Regions from separate parts of the Homo sapiens genome. Here all the other regions are linked to region 2. The links are contacts of gene promoters, found by promoter capture Hi-C in human tissues and cell types (Jung and others, 2019). All regions are on one chromosome and are shown on one strand. Each heading gives the region's core, a stretch centred on a gene start or on the middle of the fragment in contact. The rest is flanking DNA. Distances are from core to core; before and after follow the strand shown. Region 1 has its middle 48 kb from the start of PNMA8B. Region 2 holds the start of HIF3A (hypoxia inducible factor 3 subunit alpha). Region 3 has its middle 6.4 kb from the start of IGFL3.

Region 1 (2,842 bases), core at 144-2,643, 250 kb after region 2:
AAATAGCATCTCTGTATTTCCTAAAGAATAAATACTGGTTGGTTTTCTCTGGCAAATCAGAAAAGGATCATTTCTCTCCTTCCATGATCATGATGCAATAAAAGCCTAGGGCTCTTCTAGATTTATATTTTATCAAAGAAAGTGAGAGTCTTGTCTTATCCAAATTAACAGAAGCACTTAGTCCAGTGTCCAGTCGCTTGAGTGGCGGTGGCCACTCTCGGAAGGGCAATTACAAACTGTACTAATAGTAAGTCCAGCGCGCCATCTGGTGGCCAATTAGAGAATAGCATGACCGTATCTACTTAAACTAAAAGGCGACTCACCTCCCTTCTTGTCTGTTAAGGCTGCCCTAGCAAATTAATACAATAAGCTTGTTCCTGTTGGTCTTAGTCTGATTGAGAAAGAACCCTTGACTGCTTTGACCCATAGAATATGACAGATGTGACACTGTGCTGGGCATGGCGGCTCACGCCTGTAATTCCAACACCGAGAAGCAGAGGTGGGCGGATCGCTTGATCCCAAGACTGCAAGACCAACCTGGGCAACACAGAAAGACCCCAACTCTACTAAAAATAACTTTTTTGTTTTGTTGTGAGACGGAGTTTCGCTCTTGTCGCCCAGGCTGGAGTGCAATGGCGTGATCTCGGCTCACCACAGACTCCGCCTCCTGGGTTCAAGCGATTCTCCTGCCTCAGCCTCCCGAGTAGCTGGAATGACAGGGGTCCGCCACCGCACGTGGCTAATTTTGTATTTTTAGTAGAGACAGGGTATATCCATGTTGGTCAGGCTGGTCTTGAACTCCCGACTTCCACCCACCTCCGCCTCCCAAACTGTTGGGATTACAGGCGTGAGCCACCACTCCCGGCCAAAAATATAACTTTTAAAAATAGGCTGGCGTGGTGGCCCGCACCTGTAGTCCCAGCTACTCGGGAGGCTGAGGCAAGAGGATCCCTTGAGCCTAGGAGGTAGAGGCTGCGGTGAGCTATGATGGCGCCGCTGCACTCCAGCCTGGGTGACAGAACGAGACCCTGTCTAAACAAACAAACAAACAAACAAACAAGTGACACCGCCAGGCCTGGATCTACATTTTAAGGGAACCAGCAGATTCCGTCGTGATCTCTTTGGCTCCCAGGCTACTGTGTAAGAATTGCAACTCCCCAGCCGGGCGCGGTGGCTCACGCCTGTAATCCCAGCACTTTGGGAGGCCAAGGCGGCGGATCACGAGGTCAGGAGATCGTGACCATCCTGGCTAACACGGTGAAACCCCGTCTCTACTAAAAATACAAAAATTAGCCGGGCGTGGTGGCAGGCGCCTGCAGTCCCAGCTACTCGGGAGACTGAGGCAAGAGAATGGTGTGAACCCAGGAGGTGGAGCTTTCAGTGAGCCCAGATCGCGGCCACTGCACTCCAGCCTAGGCGACAGAGCGAAACTCCGTCTCAAATAAATAAATAAATAAATAATAAAAAAAGAATTGCAGCTCCCCTAAGAGCATGGAGCTGTGAGAAGGCCCAGGAGAATTGAAGCTTCCAGACATGGGAGTGAAGAAGCCATCTTGGAGGTGGGTCCTCCAGCCCTCATCACATGATGCCACGTGGAACAGAAATGAACATCCAGTCAAACCCTTTTCACATTCCTGACCCACAAAATCCTGAACAAGCTTGGGAATTAAGCTATTACTGTGCCATTTTTTGTTGTTGTTGTTTTTGTTTTTTCTTTTTGTTTTGTTTTGGGTTTTTTTTTTTTTTTTTTTTTTTGGTTTTCTGGGTTTTATTTGAGATAGAGTTCTGCTCTTGTTGCCCAGGCTGGAGTGCAATGGCACTATCTCGGCTCACTGCAACCTCCGCCTCCTGGGTTCAAGTGATTCTCCTGCCTCAGCCTCCTGAATAGCTGAGATTACAGGTGCCCACCACCACGCCCGGCTAATTTTTGTATTTTTAGTAGAGACAGTGTTTCGCCACGTTGGCCAGGCTGGTCTCAAACTCCTGACCTCAAGTGATCCGCCCACCTCGGCCTCCCAAAATGCTGGGATTACAGGCGTGAGCCACCGCCTGCGGCCATTGTGCCACTTTTATAGAGGAGGAGATTGAGGTTCAGAGGCCCAGTTGATGGTCCAAGATCACACACTGGGAAGTACTGGAACCAGGGTTATGAAATCCTGTCTGCTTGGCTGCAAAGCCTCTACTCTTCCACACTGCATTATTTAGGAAGACAGACAGGCTTTGGGCACGAGCGTGGGCCTCACTGAGGGGAGAGGGGCCTTCTGGCCTCAGTAATATCCCTGTTCCCTTCTCTGACTGTCACTTCCCCCTTAGAGACAGAGTTTCTGCAGAGTGGAGTCTCTTCTCACGCCTGGGAGAGTTTGTGCAGGAGACATGAGAGCTGAAGATCTGGCACCACCTTTGCCTTAAAGACAAAAGGTGACATTTGGGAAAAGCATGCCACTCTTCGAGTGGTACTTAAGGATCCATGGGCTGAATCTGCCTTTTTTTCCCCAACTGATTTGGCAAGGACCTTCAAATAAATCCAGTGGAGCTTCTTGGGGCAGCATGGCCCACTCTCAAGAGTTTAGCCTTTGAGTCATGTGTGGTGGCTCGTGCCTATAATCCCAGCACTTTGGGAGGCCGAGGCAGGCTCACTTGAGGTCAGGAGTTCAAGACCAACCTAGCCAACATGGTGAAACCCCATCTCTGCTAAAAATACAAAAATCAGCTGGGCATGGTGGCAGGCACCTGTAATCCCAGCTACTCAGGAGGCTGAGGGAGGAGAATCGCTTGAACCCAGGAGGCAGAGGTGGCAGTGAACTGAGATCGCACTACTGTACTCCAGCCTGGGCAACAGAGC
Region 2 (2,719 bases), core at 102-2,601:
ATCTGCTCCATCTGCCCAGCAATTCCAGCAGACATAGAAAATCCTCTTTCCTAATGGTTTCAGCAAATGTCTCAGGGTTGATTCTCATTGGGCTAAATTAGGTAACATGCCTTCCCTGAACCAATCACTGTGGCCAGGGAAGCAGACTCAACTGATTAGCCAGGTTTGGATCCTATGTCCATCCCTGGAGCTGGTGAAGGCAGAGCAGTGGCCAAGCCCTATTCAAATTAAATAGATGAAGAGGACAGAGAAGTGGTTTCCCAAAAGAAAACAGAGTGGGGAACTGGCGTGAGCCGGGGAGCCGTGTGGATTCCTGGAGGAAGAGTGTGCTAAGCTGTGGGAACAGCAAGTGCAAAGGCCCTAAGGTGAGCAACTTGCCTGGCAAGTTCAAGGTTCAACAAGGCCACTTCTGCTGTAGTATCCTCTTCCCTGCCAACCAAATCCAGAATAGTGGTCCAACACACACACACACACACACACACACACACACTCTGTTCCTTATCCAACTGTAATGCTTTCACCCTTGCTTGGTACCTTTGTACTTCTCCCTTCATAGTCGACTAGTTAAAAAAAAATACATTTCTCGGCTCTTTTTTGAAGTAGGTGTGATTGAGTTAAAACATATTTACTTGACATAAGCTTAATTATTCATCAATGGGAACCTGAAAAGGGAGTCAGAGAGGCCAAGAGGTTAGGGTGGAGTAGAGGGGGTAGGGAAGGTAAGCTGGGGTGCAGAGGGTGCAGACTGGAGGAATGGGGGCGAAGTGGGGTATGGGACTGGGGTGGCAGGGAGGGGCTGGGGAGAGAGAGAGAAGGGTAGGTGCCAGAGGGCCAAGGATTGTGGAACTGGGGTGGGGTTGGGAGTTGGGGGGTGGGGAGGAGATGTGGGGTACTCTGTGAATACCTTAGAAGGGATAGAGAAGGCAGGGCTAGGGGTTTGGAAGGGGTGGGATTGGAGGTCAGAGGGGCTCAACTGGGGTTAGGAAATGGAAAGGTGAGAAGAGGTGGGGGTTAGAGGCTGGGGACTGGGGTCCAGAGAGCAGAGTGAACTGAGTGGGTTCAGAAGAGTACTGGCGTTGGCACTTCAGAGGCTGGACTAGAGAAGGCGCGTTCAGCCGACGGTGCGGGATACACTGCCGAGGAAGTCCGCGGCGAGGGGCGTGGTTGGGGGGTGTGTATTACACGGTATCCCCCCCTTGCCTTTCCAAGTCTTTCCCTCTGGTTCCGCCTCCTTTTCAGGAGTGACATACCGTTGCCCAATCAGAGCCTCAGGCCTGGCGTGGCACAGCCAACCGCGCGGCGTGGGGAGGAGCTGGGGAGGGGGCTCGCAAGGCCGGGGAGGGGGCTAGGGGCCTCCGAGGGCTCCGGAGCGGCGACTGGCGAGCCATGGCGCTGGGGCTGCAGCGCGCAAGGTACTGAAGTTCGGGGGCAGGAGTTCTGGGAATTGGGGGGCTCTCCTCCTGGAGACCCCTGAGCTGGATTGTTGGGGGGGGTGGGGTTCGCGGGTGCGAGCCAAGAACGCCCCGGGGCGCGCAGTTGGAGGCACATCCCCACCGCACTCTCCACCCTTAGGGACTGCAGGGGTGGGGGATTCCCTACGTCTCTGGCTGCCCCGCCCCTCTGGCCAAGAGCGGCTTCGGGGTTCCCGATTTCTCGCTACCCAAGGCTCATTTACCCTCCTGGTTGGGGGTGGAACTTGGGATTCCTGATAAATTAGGGGTGATTGCATTTGAGCAGTCCCCAGGCTTCTGCGGGAGATATTCGCCCTCCACATATTGATCCCTCTGGCCTCTGAACCCCCCAAAATTGAGGGTATTCTTTGCCACCAGGTGCCTGGGATCCTAGGTGATATGGGATACCCCTAAATGGAGCCTTCCCACATATAGGGAGTCCCTTGGAATGGCATTCAGCTCCTGAGTTCAAGAGAGGAGAGATCTCCTCTAATAGTATGCTTCCTGACACAGTCTCCTAAACATTGGGTTTCCCTAGAAATGGGCAGAGGGGAGCCCCTTTCAGAAGCCGTCTGGGACCCTTCCCAAGAGACTTTTTGTATCCTTTCAAAAGCCAGAGTCACCCCCTTAAATAACAGGGAAACAAGCTGGACCCACTTCCCAAAGTCCAGCCCCTCATCTCACCCCTGCACCCCCATCCTGAGAGACAGGGGAGCCTCATCCAAGCTTTATTTTGGGGAGACTCCATGGCAGGGTGCTGTGAGCCTGCAGGCTGTGATGGGAACGCCCCCTGCCGCAGTACTCAGATGGGGTCATCCCGGGCAGAGGGTGGGTTTCTGGGTTCACTTGCCCAGCAGGTGCAGCTCTGCTGGAACACAGGGGAACCTGTGCCCTGGGGCCGCTGCCGGGGGGTTTTATCTGGCCATGTTCCCATGGGACCCTGGAAAATGTTCTAGGTCCTCAGCTTTCCCTGTCCAATGTGAGGCACCCAGTAAGCCTCACCCCCTTCCCTCCTCCCTGGCTTCTCAGGCCTGATTGGATCCATGCACACCCCATGTTTCTAACCGCCCCCATCCTCTCCCCTGTCCCCTACTCTATTCCAGGCCCTGGCTCTGGGCCTAACAAGGAACTCTATCCCACCCCTTTTGGGCCAGCTGTCGTTCCGCCCCTCTCAGCGCCCCCTCCTGGCTGGGTGGGGGCCCCTCTTGGCTGAGCTCGGGTGCCCCCCCTCCCCACCCAAGGCCGGCCCTTTCCTGTGGAGTCATCTC
Region 3 (3,036 bases), core at 355-2,854, 170 kb before region 2:
CTGTGTTCCAGAGATTCTGGTATATTGTATCTTTGTTCTCATTGGTTTCAAATAGCTTCTTGATTTCTGCCTCAATTTCATTATTTACCCCAAAGTCATTCAGGGGCAGGTTATTCAATTTCCATGTAATTGTATGGTTTTGAGCAAATTCCTTAGTCTTGATTTCTAATTTGATTGTGCTATGGTCTGAGAGAGTGGTTGTTATGATTTCGGTTCTTTTGTGTTTGCTGAGGAGTGTTTCGTGTCTGATTATGTGGTCGATTTTTCAATGTGTGCCATGTGGTGGTGAGAAGAATGTATATTCTATTGCTTTTGTGTGGAGAGTTCTGCAGATGTCTATCAGGCCCATTTGATCCAGTGCTGAGTTCAGGTCCTGAATATCTTTGTTAATTTTCTGACCTGATGATCTGTCTAATACTGTCAGTGAGGTATTGAAGTTTCCCACTATTATTGTATGGATGTCTAGATCTCTTTGAAGGTCTCAAAGAGCTTGCTCTCTGAATCTGGGTGCTCTTGTGTTGGGTGCATATGTATTTAGGATAGTTAGGCCTTCTTGTTGAATTGAACCCTTTACTATTACATAATACCCTTCTTTGTCTTTTTTTATCTTTGTTGGTTTAAAGTCATCTGAGATTAGGATTGCAACTCCTGCTTTTTTCTGTTTTCCATTTGCTTGGTAGATTTTCCTCCATCCCTTTATTTTGAGCCTGTGGGTGTAATTGCATGTGAGATGGACTGCATGCAGTTTCAAGGGTTCAGGTTCACTGTTTATTTAAACCAAATACTACAGGGTATGATCTCCTGAACTAAGTGGGTGAAGTACACGTTTCCTATGAAACAGCCTTTTTCATTATCTCACAGGGCAATAACTTCTTTAGAGTTTTGATAAATATTTTAGTTCCCCCAGCAAGCATCAGATGATGAGTTAAAGAACATACCATGTTATTTAAAATATGGCATTTGTTTGTCTACATGCTGTTTATTGAGGTTCTTGGAAGCACCTTTTCATTATGTTTATAAACTGGTTACTTGCAAGTGGTTGCTTGCCAGTTTAAACTAGCTTAAGCTGTGGCAAAAAGAGGAATTTATTATCTTTGGTAGGTTCCAAATTAAAAAATAAAGTGAGCAAGAACTAAGATTAGAAGAAATTTATGAGCTTGGATGAAGGTTCCCAGTATTTCTCATTATTTTTATGTTTAATGATGTATAGTTCCTTTTCTGTAAATGATACACTATTCAGAATAATTGTTTTGGGTTGTTTGCTTCCTTCTTATTAATTTATAAATGCTCTTTTTATATGGGAGATACTAACCTTTTGTCTGTTATATGTTTTCCTCGCCTTTGTGTTTGTTTCTCAGTAATGCTGGTGGAGTCTTCTTTTTTGAGATATTTTAAATTTTTATGCAGCAGTGTCTTTTACCACTGCCCTACATCTTCTTTCCACTTTTTGGCTTCCGCTTACGTAAGGAGGCCATCTCCAACTTAAAGTTCTATGAATAGTTCTATATTTTTACTTTCTTTTTAGTCATTTTTATTCACATATAACTTTTTCTATAAGATGTGATGCTGAGTCTAAGTTAATTTTCTTGCTAATGAATGTCCTATTGAATCTGAAATTACTTGTTGACTAGTTTCATCCCTTTTCTTCTAATGTACAATGTTACTTTTCTTATATCTCAGTTTTCCATTATTAGCTTTATCTGTTGATGGACTCTGTTCAATTGATTTATGTGTAATTTTTCTAGGTAGTGTCTGGTTCATTTACAGTAGCTTTGTTTTAAATTTTAATAATAGACAAAAACTTCTCTCCTTATTACACTACATTAAGCTTTACTCGACAATATTTGTGCAGTCAGCTTTAAGAGCTCCCAAGTAATTTTCTAAACCCTCCTCCTAAAAAATAGCAAAATTTAAAAATGGGAATTCAGATGAAATTTTTTTGTAAACATTGTTTGGCTTTGGAAAGCATGAGCATTCTAATGTTTTAATACTTTCTGTCTCAGAGGTTTATCGACTTCTTTTTTTATTAGGTCTAGTTTGCTGTCAACACCCATTTAATTTTACGTAAACATGCTCTTCGAGGCTGAAGCGAATATGACTGATTTTCAGTGTGAAAATAAAACATAAAAACCCCTTCTTGGCTCATGCCTGTAATCGCAGCACTTTGGGTGGCTGAAGCAGGCAGATCACTTGAGGCCAGGAGTTTAAGACCAGCCTGGCTAATATGGTGAAACCCTGTCTCTACTAAAAATACAAAAGTTAGCCGGGCATGGTGGCCTATGCTTGTAGTCTCAGCTACTCGGGAGGCTGAAGTGGGAGAGTCGCTTGAACCCAGGAGGTGGAGGTTGCAGTGAGCCAATATTATGCTACTGCACTCCAGCCTGGGGAGCAGAGCGAGACTCCCTCTCAAACAACAACAACAAAAACAAAACTGTTCTTGGAGTTGTTTCTAAACAGAACTTGTCTCTAGTATTAACGTAGCAGAAATGTATATGATTTTACATTAGTATTAAAGATAAGAATATTCTTGGCCAACAGGAAATGGGTTAAAGCCTTGCAGAGGAGGGAAACAGTGAATTTTGTCATTCACTTAACCAGTTTTCACACACACACAGAGAAAGTCCAGAAGCCTGGCTGGTAAGAAATTCTTACCCTTTTGCTGGCATGCTACGGTTTTGGGTTCTCTTTTTCTGAGCAACTTTGGTGACCTTGCTCCCTGTGGCATAGCTGTGGGGGCCAAGCCACGTTACAAAAGAAAATGATCCCTTTCCATTTCATGGAACCATAGGCAAAAGTCTCTCCTTTTTACAAGAGGCCAACCAGTGGGTTGCATGGGAAAATAAGATATTGAATTAAATGCACAGAAAGAAAACAATTCATTGGGACATAAGTGACACAAACTTTGGTTCCACGTGCTGTCAGTTCTCTCCTTAAAAAGCCAGCACCCAAAGTTGATAGACTCACACACCCAAACAGACAGATGACAGAAAAGTCCACAGGCTTCCCCTCCTCACATGGTGTGGCAAAGAGAAAGTG

What was found. Contacts are between HindIII fragments. The study calls those that stand out against the background at their distance.
Region 1: a contact is called between a fragment that was not itself captured here and the fragment with the promoter of HIF3A in region 2, in 1 of the 25 tissues and cell types used here (aorta).
Region 3: a contact is called between a fragment that was not itself captured here and the fragment with the promoter of HIF3A in region 2, in 5 of the 25 tissues and cell types used here (IMR-90 fibroblasts, dorsolateral prefrontal cortex, liver and 2 more).

The regions. Positions count from the first base shown.
Region 1 is chr19:46,542,601-46,545,442 of GRCh38, forward strand. It overlaps the pseudogene PPP5D1P. Among named protein-coding and RNA genes, the nearest start is that of PNMA8B, 48 kb to the left of the region's middle. The HindIII fragment of the contact is 3,360 bases long and covers 1-2,842 here.
Region 2 is chr19:46,295,691-46,298,409 of GRCh38, forward strand. It overlaps HIF3A (hypoxia inducible factor 3 subunit alpha), which reads left to right and starts at 1,352. Exons shown (of 15, transcript NM_152795.4): 1 at 1,352-1,412. The coding sequence starts at 1,387. The HindIII fragment of the contact is 13,814 bases long and covers 1-2,719 here.
Region 3 is chr19:46,129,531-46,132,566 of GRCh38, forward strand. It overlaps a transcript of IGFL2 not described here. Among named protein-coding and RNA genes, the nearest start is that of IGFL3, 6.4 kb to the left of the region's middle. The HindIII fragment of the contact is 6,419 bases long and covers 1-3,036 here.